2 separate regions of the Homo sapiens genome follow, and region 2 is linked to region 1. Evidence: promoter capture Hi-C in 16 types of primary human blood cells and fetal thymus (Javierre and others, 2016). All regions are on one chromosome and are shown on one strand. Each heading gives the region's core, a stretch centred on a gene start or on the middle of the fragment in contact. The rest is flanking DNA. Distances are from core to core; before and after follow the strand shown. Region 1 holds the start of SLC35G2 (solute carrier family 35 member G2). Region 2 has its middle 7.3 kb from the start of STAG1-DT.

Evidence for each region. Contacts are between HindIII fragments. The CHiCAGO score rates a contact against its expected background, and 5 or more counts as called.
Region 2: a contact is called between a fragment that was not itself captured here and the fragment with the promoter of SLC35G2 in region 1, in 1 of 17 cell types (megakaryocytes). The highest score is 5.4, in megakaryocytes.

The regions. Positions count from the first base shown.
Region 1 is chr3:136,816,817-136,823,191 of GRCh38, forward strand. It overlaps SLC35G2 (solute carrier family 35 member G2), which reads left to right and starts at 2,310. Exons shown (of 2, transcript NM_025246.3): 1 at 2,310-2,812. RefSeq lists silencers at 2,335-2,394, 3,458-3,507. The HindIII fragment of the contact is 16,057 bases long and covers 1-4,106 here.
Region 2 is chr3:136,756,977-136,763,018 of GRCh38, forward strand. No RefSeq gene overlaps it. Among named protein-coding and RNA genes, the nearest start is that of STAG1-DT, 7.3 kb to the left of the region's middle. The HindIII fragment of the contact is 2,023 bases long and covers 1,486-3,508 here.

The sequences.
Region 1 (6,375 bases), core at 1,060-3,559:
TTCTTAAATCAGTCTGAGTTTAAGTTTTTGACACTTGTAAGGAAAAGCCCTATGTATCATAGCACAAAATAATTCCATTTATTAAACATCACAAAATGTCTAAAAATCCTCTTTCATATCTTTCTATACCTTGGTGTCACTCAGAATGTCAGCTGTGCTAAATCCCTAGTCTCACTCTCTCAAAACTCCCAGAAACCATCTCTCCTAGTCAGCTCATTCCAGGTCTTTTTTTCTTACTCCCTTACTCAAACTTTGCTGGTCGCCTTCCTTATCCCCACCCCATCCCACCTTCTCCAAAACAAAAAATCTGAGCCTTGCAGATCAGCCGAGCCTTCTGAGGCTCCTTTTGCTTCTTTACCTCTATTCCTTATTGAGATCAGCACAATTAATGCATGTCTGAACAACAAATGATCCTTTCTCTTTGGAAGGGTGAAAGTTTGGAAATATTTACATGTTAAATGTTCTGTTCTGGTCTCATTTGTATTCAGTACAAATAGTGTGTTTGCTTGGACATTAATTTTATTTGCAAATAGCTACAGCTGGGGGTCCCTTTGGGTAAGTCTTGCTAAGATACTGCATTGGTGGGTTTTTTGTTTATTTTGTTTTTGTTTTGTTTTTCAAGGGGATGGGGAAGGAATCAAAGTAGTCAAATCAGTTTGGTTGTTTTTACAAGCCCGAGAAATGGTCAAATTTTGGATTCAGACCAAGCACACCATAGTGTGCTAGAGGCAATTTAATGACTTCCTACCCTCTTGCCTTTTTCCCCCTCTTTGGGAACATTCTTGGATTTTCTACAGAAACAGCCAGAGGCTCTCAATTGACAATTGCCTCACTCAGCAGTTTCTTGTTAAGCACACTTGTCAGACACTGTTTCCAGGACTCTCTTAAGTGTCCTAAGAATATTGACTCATTCAAAAGCAGCCCAGCTGTAGTTGGGAGAGCACCAGCACTTGCTCTATAAAGATCTAGATTGTCTCTCTACCTCAAGAGGAATCCAAAATCCTGTTATGCTGGACTCTGAAATGATCCCCAGCCCTTTGGTGATCACACTGTTTATGAGCAGTCTGAATTCCATTCTTGGGTCTACCTAAACTAGCACCCTCGGGCTATGGGGCCCAGTGGGGAGACCACCTAGCATGCTGGCTGCCTGGAGCCCAGGGAACTGTCAAGATGGCTCTGGAAGACTTCTCGCCTTTTAAAAGCCCCGTATTTCTTTTACATATATTTTTGTCCTCATGAATTTTGCCAACCGCAATGGACTAAAATCTATTATAGCGTCCTGGAAAGGTGGGGAAAAGATGGGATAGTTGAGGAGAGTTTAATGAAGGGACTATTTAAAAAGGTGTGGATGGGGTTAAAGGAAACCTCTGGGCGTCATTACCCACTCCAGGCCTGAAGGGGCAAGGGTAGTTAGTGGTAACCAGAACCTGGAGAAAACTGCAGGAGAGGGCCACAGGATGGGAGTAATGGCTTTCAGATGAAGAACATAGCCACTGCTAACAGGGTGGCCCGCTGGGGATGCAGGGGAGGTCCTGAATCACATCCTGCCTTCTGATCTGCAGGTGCCTCCCACTTGCCAAAACCAATTGAAAGCCAGATTATAGTTGACGTAGCCCATAAAGGTCAGTCCTGAGTCACAGAGCAGAGTGGAGAGTGGGTCTGAAGGGACAGAGGAAAAACCAGCAAGCACCTCCTGTTTTTTCCCACAGCCAGCACCTTGGTTCAGCCCTTACCCTTTCTTGCCTGTCCCCTGGACCCATCAAATCCACTGCTTTTAATGACCAGTCTGTTTCCAAGAGGCTATATTCATTCCACTTGGGACTGGGGCATATGCACTTGGGTAGAAGAACCAGCTGTGCAGTGTCAAGACCCTTCCCTCAGAGACCTTATCAGTAAAATGGCGGGTGGACTCGGGGATGCCCGAAGACTTTTCCGGACCACGATTTTCCGATGCTGGACACATATTTAAACATGAAGGAATAGACTTGCGACTTTTAAGCGCAAACAATGGGTGGAAATGGACAGAAACTGCCTCCGTGCCCACTTGCAGCGGACTACGTAGCCCTGGCAGACAGGCAATTGCTTCAAACAAGCGCCCTCCAAGGGCGTAAGCTAGAGGGGCCCGGGCGGGCGCTTTCCCGTGGACCCTCCCACCTCGCGGGTAGAGGAAGTCCTTCAGTTCAGGCACAACCCTGAGCGTCCCCCGCAGTCTCCAACTCCGGCGCCAGTCAGGTTGTGGGGTGGGGGCGGCGGAGGGCGGAGAGCGCAGGCGCAGAGTCCGCGCGGCGGCGCCCCTCTCCCTCCGCAGTACTCCGGGCAGCGCCCGCCTCGATTTTCCCAGGCGAGGGCACGCCCGCGTCAGTCGCCTCCGGGGCACCTTCCTCGCCACGACACGCAGGTAACCGGGCCCCGGGAGCCGGTCGGCGGCGGCGGACTGGGACCTTGATCCTGCCTGCCCGGCCGCCCGACAAGGGAATGAGAGCGGACCCCGAACTCCACACACCCGCGTTTAGCCGCCACACCTAAGGGGCACAACAGTCTTTTTGGGTAAGGGCCGGGCTGGGGGCGACGCGCCCCGCCCGCTTTGCAGACTTCGGGGTGCTCTGCACGACGCCTGAAAGGCCGCGGGGCCCGCATTTCTCTGTGCTGCCCTCCTGGAGAACCGGGACACGGGGACGGGAGGGCCAGCATCGGCTACGGCCCGGTTTCCCGTTTCTTTCCGCTGTCGCGTGTCTGGGCCCTCCTGCAGCGTCCATGATGAAGGCCAGGGGCTGTTGCTTTCCTCTCGCCCAGTAGCCAACCCAAGCAAGGGGTGAGTCACTGTGGCGTCATATGGGATCAATTTCAAATACAAGTTTTAAAAAAGGCTGGATGATTTTAGAAATATGGCCAAGAATTTGTATTTTCCATTACTCTCTTGTCTCATGTCCATGACTCTTGAACGCCAGTCTGTGGGCGCTGAGATTTTCGTGGTACATCGACGGTTTGTAGACATCTTTTCCCAAGGGAAGACGAGGGCAAGGGTTAGTGGAGGAAGGGCCTCGTCACGGCCGAGAGTGGCGGAGAAGGCTCAGGGCAAGTCCGCACAGCCTCCAGCAGCCACGGGGAGGAAAAGGCGAATCTTTCCTCACAGTGCTCTGGGCGCTGTAGAATTTCTACGCCACGTGCACCCATTTGGCCTCATTTGAGAGGAGGAGAGGGAAGAAGGGTCGCGCGGGCCGGCAGGAAAGAGACTCGTGTTGCGGCGGATGAAGGCTCAGCGCGGACCTGCATCTCGGGCCAGGTTTTCTTTCACCCGGCTCCGCGAGGAGCGAGGCGGAAAGCTCGGGTCCGAGTGTTGATCGAGGACCTGGAGATAGTAACCCCCCACGTCCAGAGTGCTGGGGGTGGGTCCAGAGGGCTGGGGGTAGGTCCAGAGGGCTGGGGGTAGCTCCGGAGGAGCGATCTTCCTCCGCGGGAAAGGACTTGGCTCAGGCTTGCCTATGTCCGTGGTGCTGAAGTGCCTCGCGCGCCCTCGTCGACTGACTTCCTGGGCCGCGGCCTGCGTTGCCCTTCTACTCTGCACCTTTGCCAAAAATAGCCCATCTCCATGGCTGGTGGCCAGAGTGGAGCAGGCCCAACACTGAAACTCTTTTCAGACAAGTTGAGGCTGGTTTCCTGAACATAACCCGAAAGCAAATGTGGCTTGCCTTGGAGGTACAGATAAGCATATGCATAACAGATTTTATTACCTATGAGAAAGTACACACCATGAGCGTAAACAGGAATTCTCACATATACTTATGAAAGATACAGGTATGTGCATTTACGCACAAACCTAACACACATGCAAATACACTCATCCCTTTTGAAAACCATTACACACTACAAGCCACACATTTTTTAGAGCTTTTGTAATCCATCTTTATTTTTTGACACTTCTAGTAAATGTGAACTCTGCAGAGCCATTTATTTTCATAATCATCTGTTCCAAAGGCACAGAGCCTGTGGATTGAAGTGTTTGGTATTTGGCTGAGCAATTAAGTATTTATACTCATTTACATTCCAGAACAAAAGTCTAGGAAGATGTAAAATTGATATTGATACCAAAAAAATTCCTTAAAGAAAGCTTAAGGAAAATGAATTAATGTAAATTTTAATAAGAACAACATATAAATAATCATAGAAATTTATAATCTTAACATATGACTAAAATGTATCATAATGCAGACAATTTTAAATATATTGGTGGTATGTGGTTTGTGTGAAGTTCTTAAAGTTTACATTTGTATTTTTCAAAAACATTGGTATTGTTTTTTCCTTAAAAAATATATGCTCATTATAAGAATTTTAGGTAATAGAGAAATGCATAAACATAGAAAACCATTGTAAACAGATTTTCATTTAGATGAACATGCATACATTTTAAATGGACCAATCCTCTATTGGTTGCGTTTTTGCTATATAATTTATAATTAATGTCTTTCATCATAAAACTAGGTCATCATTATTAAGGGTTGCATAATATTGATCTGTGTGGATAGAATGTAAGTTTTTTAAACAATCCCATAATGAACATTTATGTCCAATTTTTTAGACTTAAAAAAATTATTGTGGAAAGAATATGTAACATGAGATCTATCCTCTGAACAAAAAAAAAATTTTTTTTTGAGACATTGTCTTGCTTGTTGCCCAGACTGGAGTGCAGTGACGTGCTCTCCGCTCACTGCAACCTCTGCCTCCCGGGTTCAAGGGATTCTCCTGCCTCAGCCTCTTGAGTAGCTGGCCACCGCACCCAGCTAGTTTTTATATTTTTAGTAGAGACAGGGTTTTACCATGTTGGCCAGGCTGGTCTTGAACTCCTGTCCTCAGGTTATCTGCCTGCCTTGGCTTCCCAAAGTGCCAGGATTACAGGCGTATGCCACTGCACCCGGGCCTGCCTTCTTAACAAAATTTTACGTGTATAATACATTATTGTTGATATGTATTGTTGATAGGTGCAATGCTGTATAGCAGATCTTTAGAGCTTATGCATCTTGCTTGACTGAGACTTTATGCCTGTTGATTAATAACTCCTGATTTTCCCCTGCCCTCCAGTCCCTGGAAACCACCATTCTACTCCTCGATTCTATGACTTTGACTACTTCATTTTTATTTCTATTTATATTAATTTTTAATTTTTGTTGGTACATAGGTATATATATATTTACGGGGTACATGAGATGTTTTGATATAGGGATGCAACATGTTTAATAATCATATCATGGTAAATGGGGTATCCATCCCCTTGAGCATTTATCCTTTGTTTTTATAAACAATCCAGCTGTACTCTTCTAATGATTTTAAAATGTACCATTAAATTATTATTGACTATAGTCATCCTTTTGTGCTATCAAATACTAGGTGTTATTCATTCTTTCTACTTTTTGTATCCATTAACCATCCCCAGTTTTCCCCACACCCCCAACTCTCTCTCACTACCCTTCCCAGCTCTGGTAACCACCATCCTTCTACTCTTTTTCTTTTTTTGAGATTGAGTCTTGCTCTTGTTGCCCAGGCTGGAAGCTGGAGTGCAGTGGCATGATCACAGCTCACTGCAACCTCTGCCTTCTGGGTTCAAGTGACTCTCCTGCCTTAGCCTCCCAAGTAGCTAGGATTACAGGTGCCCGCCACCACACCCAGCTAATTTTTGTATTTTTAGTAGAGATGGGGTTTCACCACGTTTGCCAAGCTGGTCTCGAACTCCTGACCTCAGGTGATCTGGCTGCCTCAGCCTCCCAAAGTGCTGGGATTACAGGCGTGAGCCACTGCGCCCAGCGTACTCTCTATCTCCATGAGTTCAATTTTTTTGATTTTTAGATCCCACAGATAAGTGAAAACACGTGAAGTTTGTCTTTCTGTGCCTGGCTTATTTCACTTAACATGATGACTTTCAGTTCCATCTGTGTTGTTGCACATAACAGGATCTCATTCTTTTTTATGCCTAAATAGTACTCCATTGTATGTAAATATCTGTTGATGGACACTTACGTTGCTTCCAGATCTTGGCTATTGTGAACAGTGCGGCAACAAACATGGGAATGCAGATAACTCTTCCATATACTGATTTCCTTTCTTTTGGTTATGTACCCAGCAGTGGGATTGCTGGATTGTATGGTAGCTCTATTTTTATTTTTTTGAGGCACCTCCAAACTGTTCTTCATAGAAGTTGAACTAATTAATAATCTCACCAACAATGTGTGAGAGTTCCCTTTCTCCACATCCTTGCCAGCTTTTGTTATTGCCTGGCTTTTGGATAAAAGCCATTTTAACTGGAGTGAGATGATATCTCATTGTAGTTTTGATTTGCATTTTTCTGATGATCAATGATGTTGAGCAGCTTTTCATATACCTGTT
Region 2 (6,042 bases), core at 1,247-3,746, 60 kb before region 1:
TCCATTTGTTCTCCCTAATGACTTGCTGTCACTCAAAAGAATTTCTACATTCTCCATCTCCCCCTTCCCTTATGAAAAAGGGTATATAAGTTTCTTTACCACACTAAATAATAGGTAATCACTCTGGATTATTCACACACACACGTTAATTTAAAAAGTTTGGTGTTTCTGAAACAGGATCTCACTCTGCCACCCAGACTAGAGTACAGTGGCACTATCACAGCTCACTGAAGCCTAAAAGTCCTGGGCTCAAGCGATCCGCCTCAGCTTCCCAAGTAGCTGGGACTACAGGCACACACCACCATGCCCACTAACTAAAAAAAAAAAAAATCTTTGTAGAGATGAGGTCTCACTGTGTTGTCCATGCTGGTCTCAAACTCCTGGACTCAAGCAATTCTCCCTAACTTGGCCTCCCAAGATGCTGAGATTACAGGTGTGAGCCACTGCGCCCAGCCTAATGTGACTGTCGTCAGTTAATTTTTCAGCAAACCTTCAGCAGAGGGAAAACTTCCCTTTGTTATTACATATAAAAGTTTTCCCTTCACCCCTACGATATGAAAAATAATGTAATTCTTCAGACACATGCCCATCAGAACTTTAATTCAACTCAATCTCTTAGCCAACCTGGTCCAAAAGTAGATATTTAATGTTATAAATAGAAAAAAAAATGCATTCTATAGCCTATGAAATGGGAAGACATTGAACAGGGGTTGCAATAGTTTAAAAGATTTTTATATAGTGTTGTTTTACTGGGAGCTTTAGATTGCTTTTCTTGTTTTCCTTGCAAATATACCAAATTGTGTTTCTGAAAATGCATTAGTTCTAATTAACATTTATTAACCAATAACATGAAGAACTTTGCTTTATAACCCAAAGAATGAGTTTCTGATTGTGTAGATTGCACAGTTTCTTTAAAATTTGGGCCAGACTTATGTCTTTTTCTCTCTGGATAATTTTAGCACACAAAAGATTTCAGTTATTCTATTGGCCTTACAGTTAGAGTAAGACACATTAAATCAACTTTTTTTGCGTGAGGATAATGGTGATATTTCTTACACAGAAAGGATTTTTAAAGTAAAATTTGGGCCGGGCGCGGTGGCTCATGCCTGTAATCCCAGCACTTTGGGAGGGCAAGGTGGGCAGATCACTTGAGGCCAGGAGTTTGAGACCAGCCTGGCCAACATGGTGAAACCCCATCTCTACTAAAACACAAAAATTAGCCGGGCGTGGTGGCGCACACCTGTAATCCCAGCTACTCGAGGGGCTGAGGCAGGTGGCAAGAGAATCGGTTAAACCCATGAGGCAGAGATTGCAGTGAGCCAAGATTGCGCCACTGCATTCCAGCCTGGCTGACAGAGTGAGACTCCGTCTCAAAAAAAAAAAGAAAAGTAAAATTTGATTCGTCATTCTTCCCTTTCCTTCCCCTTTTTCAGAGTTCCAAGTGCAACTGCTCGATATCTAGAGCAAAGAGAGGTCTTCTGATCAAGCTTCCTCACCCTTCATTTTTACCACCTCCACAAACCCTGTGTTTCAGGGATCATGACCACTGTCTCATCTTAATCTCCCCCAAATCAAGTATTCCTTTGCATTTTTCACTTGGTCACAAGGCATTTGTTCTTTCTTACGTTGGTAGACCTTTGCAATTATCAGAAATAATTTTCCCTTCTTTTCTACTCTTGCAATTAAGGTGTGCTGCCAATTGGTGGCAGTAATATGCCATGGTGTCCTCCCTACTGGATTTAAACCATTATTTTTCCTTTTTTTTTTTAATTTTTTTTCTTTTTGGAGACAGAGTCTCACTCTATTGCCCATGCTGGAGTGCAATGGCGCGATCTCAGCAAACTGCAACCTCCGCCTCCTGGGTTCAAGCAGTTCTCCTGCTTCAGCCTCCCGAATAGCTGAGATTACAGGTGACTGCCACCATGCCCGGCTAATTTTTGTATTTTTAGTAGAGACAGGGCTTCACCATGTTGGCCAGGCTGGTCTCAAACTCCTGACCTTAGGTGATCCGCCTGCCTCGGCCTCCCAAAGTGCTTGAATTACAGGCGTGAGCCACCGCGCCCAGCCTAAAAACACTATTCTTTCTACAACTGAGCAAGCAGCCAGGCCCAGTGACTCACACCTGTAATCACAGCACTTTAGGAGGTTGAGGCAGTCAGATCTTTTGAGGCCAGAAGTTCAAGACCAATCTGGGCAACATAGGGAGACCCCATCTGTATAAAAAATAAAAAATTAGCTGGGCAGGATGGCGCACACCTGTAGTCCCAGCTACTTGTGAGACTGAGATGGGAGGATCACTTAAGTGAGCCATGATCATGCCACTGCACTCCAGCCTGGGTGACACAGCAAGACCCTTTCTCAGATAGGCAGACAGACAGATGTATAACTAAATCAATAAATTCTGCCCCGTTCTTGGTAATAAGATGGTAAGAGGGATCCAGAATACCTTCCCTTTCAGAATCAGTAACCTGGTTATAGGCAAAACTCTATTCTCAAAAAGCAGAGGATCGGAATTGCTCAGATATTTTTTTAAAAAGAAATTTTGGCCAGGCGCGGTGGCTCACGCCTGTAATCCTTACCCAGAACTTTGAGAGGCCAAGGCGGTGCGGATCACAAGGTCAGGAGATCGAGACCGTCCTGGCTAACACGGTGAAACCCCGTCTCCACTAAAAATACAAAAAATTAGCTGGGCGTGGTGGCAGGCTCCTGTAGTCCCAAATACTTGGGAGGCTGAGGCAGGAGAATGGTGTGAACCCGGGAGGCGGAGCTTGCAGTGAGCCGAGATCATGCCACTGCACTCCGGGCTGGGTGACAGAGCGAGACTCCATCTCAAAAAAAAAAAAAAAAAAAACTCACAGGCAGAGGGCTGGAACTAGTGTGGGTAGGAGCTAAGAGTTATTATTATTTAGAGACTCAAGTGCCAGTAGAACAACCGTTTTCTTAGTCCAAGTTTCTTGATGTCCTTGGGATTCCACTTTATGGCTTATTTCAAAAGACCTGTATGAGGCCTGGACTACTTTGAGGAATCATCCTTTTTTTTTTTTTTTTAAAGTCGGAATCTTGCTGTGTTACCCAAACTGGAGTGCAGTGGCATGATCTTGGCTCACTGCAACCTCCGCCTCCCGGGTTCAAGCGATTATCCTGTCTCAGCCTCCCAAGTAGCTAGCATTACAGGTGCACACAACCACACCCAGCTAATTTTTGTATGTTTAGTAGAGACAGGGTTTCACCATATTGGCCAGGCTGGTCTCAAACTCCTAACCTCAGGTGATCTGCTGGCGTCGGCCTCCCAAAGTGTTGGGATTAGAGGCGTGAGCCACTGCACCCCGGCCTGGGAATCATTCTTGATAGAATAGCTATCTAAAACATTGTTTCCATATAGGCAGAAAAACCAGCCTCTAATTTTATTTTCTGTAAAAGAAATGCACAATGGCAACAAATTAAAGGATACAAAATAAATTGTAACATATCAAACAGGACAAAAAAACATAACGTTGAAAAGCAACCAAGCTTCATCCTAACTCTACCGCCAGGGCCACTGCCCAAGGACAACATCTTTTACATGTTTTTGTTTGTTTGGAATTACTTCAATATTTCTAAATATGCTCATTCAACTTTAAATAAAATCTAATGACTCCCTGCTACAAAGGATAAAGATTATGTTAATACCCACTGGTCCAATATTTAACAGTTGCATTAAGTTTGCGTCTTTTGTTGGTTTTCTTTGTAACTTTTTTTTTTTTTTTCCTTTTTGGAGACACGGTCTCCCTCTGTTGCCCAGGCTGGAGTACAGTGGCATGATCTTGGCTCACTGCAACTTCTTCCTCCCAGGTTCAAGCAATTCTCCTGCCTCAGCCTCCTGAGTAACTGAGATTACAGGTGTGGGCCACCATGCCCAGCTAATTTTTATATTTTTAGTGAAGACGGGGTTTCACCATGTTGGTCAGGCTTCTCTCAAACTGACCTCAGGTGGTCTGCCTGCCTCAGCCTCCCAAAGTGGTGGTATTACAGGCATGAGCCACCACGCTTCTTTGTAACTCTGAATAATACAAGATAAAACACTAGATAACATTTCAACTTTAGGTAGTATTACAACTCTCCACTATTAACACCACCATTCTTCCTTCACACCTTTTTCTCACCTCCCTTAAACACAAGAAGTCTTTTGTGTTTTGTCCATAGGTTGACACAGTTAATAGCCAACTTCCAGACTAAGGAGTGTGCTAGGATTACATCTTCTCTTTTACAGAACCACTGAACCACCGTGAAAACCACTAGAAAACCACTCAAAGGAAAATATAGAAAGCATCAGGATCAAATGGATTATCTTCCCTTATTAACAATTGCCCAAATATCTTTGCTTCATATTTAGATCACAAACGGGCTGGGCAGAGTGGCTCACGCCTGTAATCCTAGCACTTTGGGAGGCCGAGGTAGCAGATCACTTGAGCCTGAGAGTTCAAGACCAGCCTGGAAAACATGGTGAAATCCTGGTTCTCCAAAAATAAAATACAAAAAATTAGCTGGGCATGGTGGCACACACCTGTAGTCGCAGGTACTCAGGAGGCTAAGATGGGAGGATCTCCTGAGCCTGGGAATTCAAGGCTGCAGTAAGCCATGATAGCACAACTGTGCTTCAGCCTGGGTGACAGACGCCATCTCAAAAACAAAACAAAACAACAACAACAGAGAGCAAACTTCCCCGTCTCTACTAAAAATACAAAAATTAGCTGAGCGTGGTGGCAGGTGCCTGTAATCCCAGCTATTCAGGAGGCTGAGGCAGGACAATCACTTGAACCCAGGAGGCGGAGGTTGCAGTGAGCTGAGATCGCACTGTTGCACTCCAGCCTGGGTGACAAGAGCAAGACTGCGTCTCAAAAAAACAAAAACAAAAAAGCAAACTTGTATGGCTTTGTTTTTCCTGGAGTTTTAAATTACCCTTTTGCCTCCTGAATATTTTATCTAATTTATCATATCAAGTTTTTCCATTTACAGAGATGCTCTCTCTTTTGCCCCCTGGTACATACCCCTGAAGAACATTTGGCCTTCTGCTTCCATTTAATCTAATTGTTCTTTAGTTCTGCTGTACCACTGAGGACTTCCCTTTACTGCACTCCAAAGTTAGAGCCACTCTTTTCTAGTATCTATGTCTTCGATATGGTTTGGCTGTGTCCCCACTCAAATCTCATCTTGAATTGTAGCTCTCTCAATTCCCATGTGTTGTGGGAGAGACCTTGTGGGAGGTAATTGAATCATGAGGGGTGAGTCTTTCCTGTGCTATTCTCGAGATAGTGAATAAGTCTCATGAGATCCGATGGTTTTGTAAAGGGGAGTTTCCCCGCACAAGCTCTCTTCTCTTGTCTGCCACCGTGTAAGATGTGCCTTTCACTTCTGCCATGATCGTGAGGTCTCCTGCCACTTGGAACTATGAGTCCATTAAACCTCTTTCTTTTGTAAATTGCCCAGTCTCTGGTATGTCTTTTATCAGCAGTGTGAAAATGGACTAATACAGTAAATTGGTACCAGAAGAGTGGGGCACTGCTGAAAATATACCCAAAAATGTGGAAGCAACTTTGGAACTGGGAAACAGGCAGAGGTTGGAACAGTTTGGAGGGCTCAGAAGAAGACAGGAAAATGTGGGAAAGTTTGGAACTCCCTAGAGACTTGTTGAATGGCTTTGGCCAAAATGCTGATAATGATATGGACAATGAAATTCAGGCTGAGGTGGTCTCAGATGGAGACTAGGAACTTGTGGGAACTACAGCAAAGGTGACTCTTGTTACGTTTAAGCAAAGAGACTGGCAGCATTTTGTCCCTGCCCTAGAGATGTGTGGAACTTTGACTTGAGAGAGCTGATTTCGGGTATCTGGCAGAAGAAATTTCTAAGCAGCAAAGCATTCAAGAGGTGACTTGGGTGCTGTTAAAGGCATTCAGTTTTCAAAGGGAAACAAAGCATAAAACTTTAGAAAATTTGAAGCCTGGCAATGAGATAGAAAAGAAAATCCCATTTTCTAAAGAGAAATTCAAGCAGGCTGCAGAAAT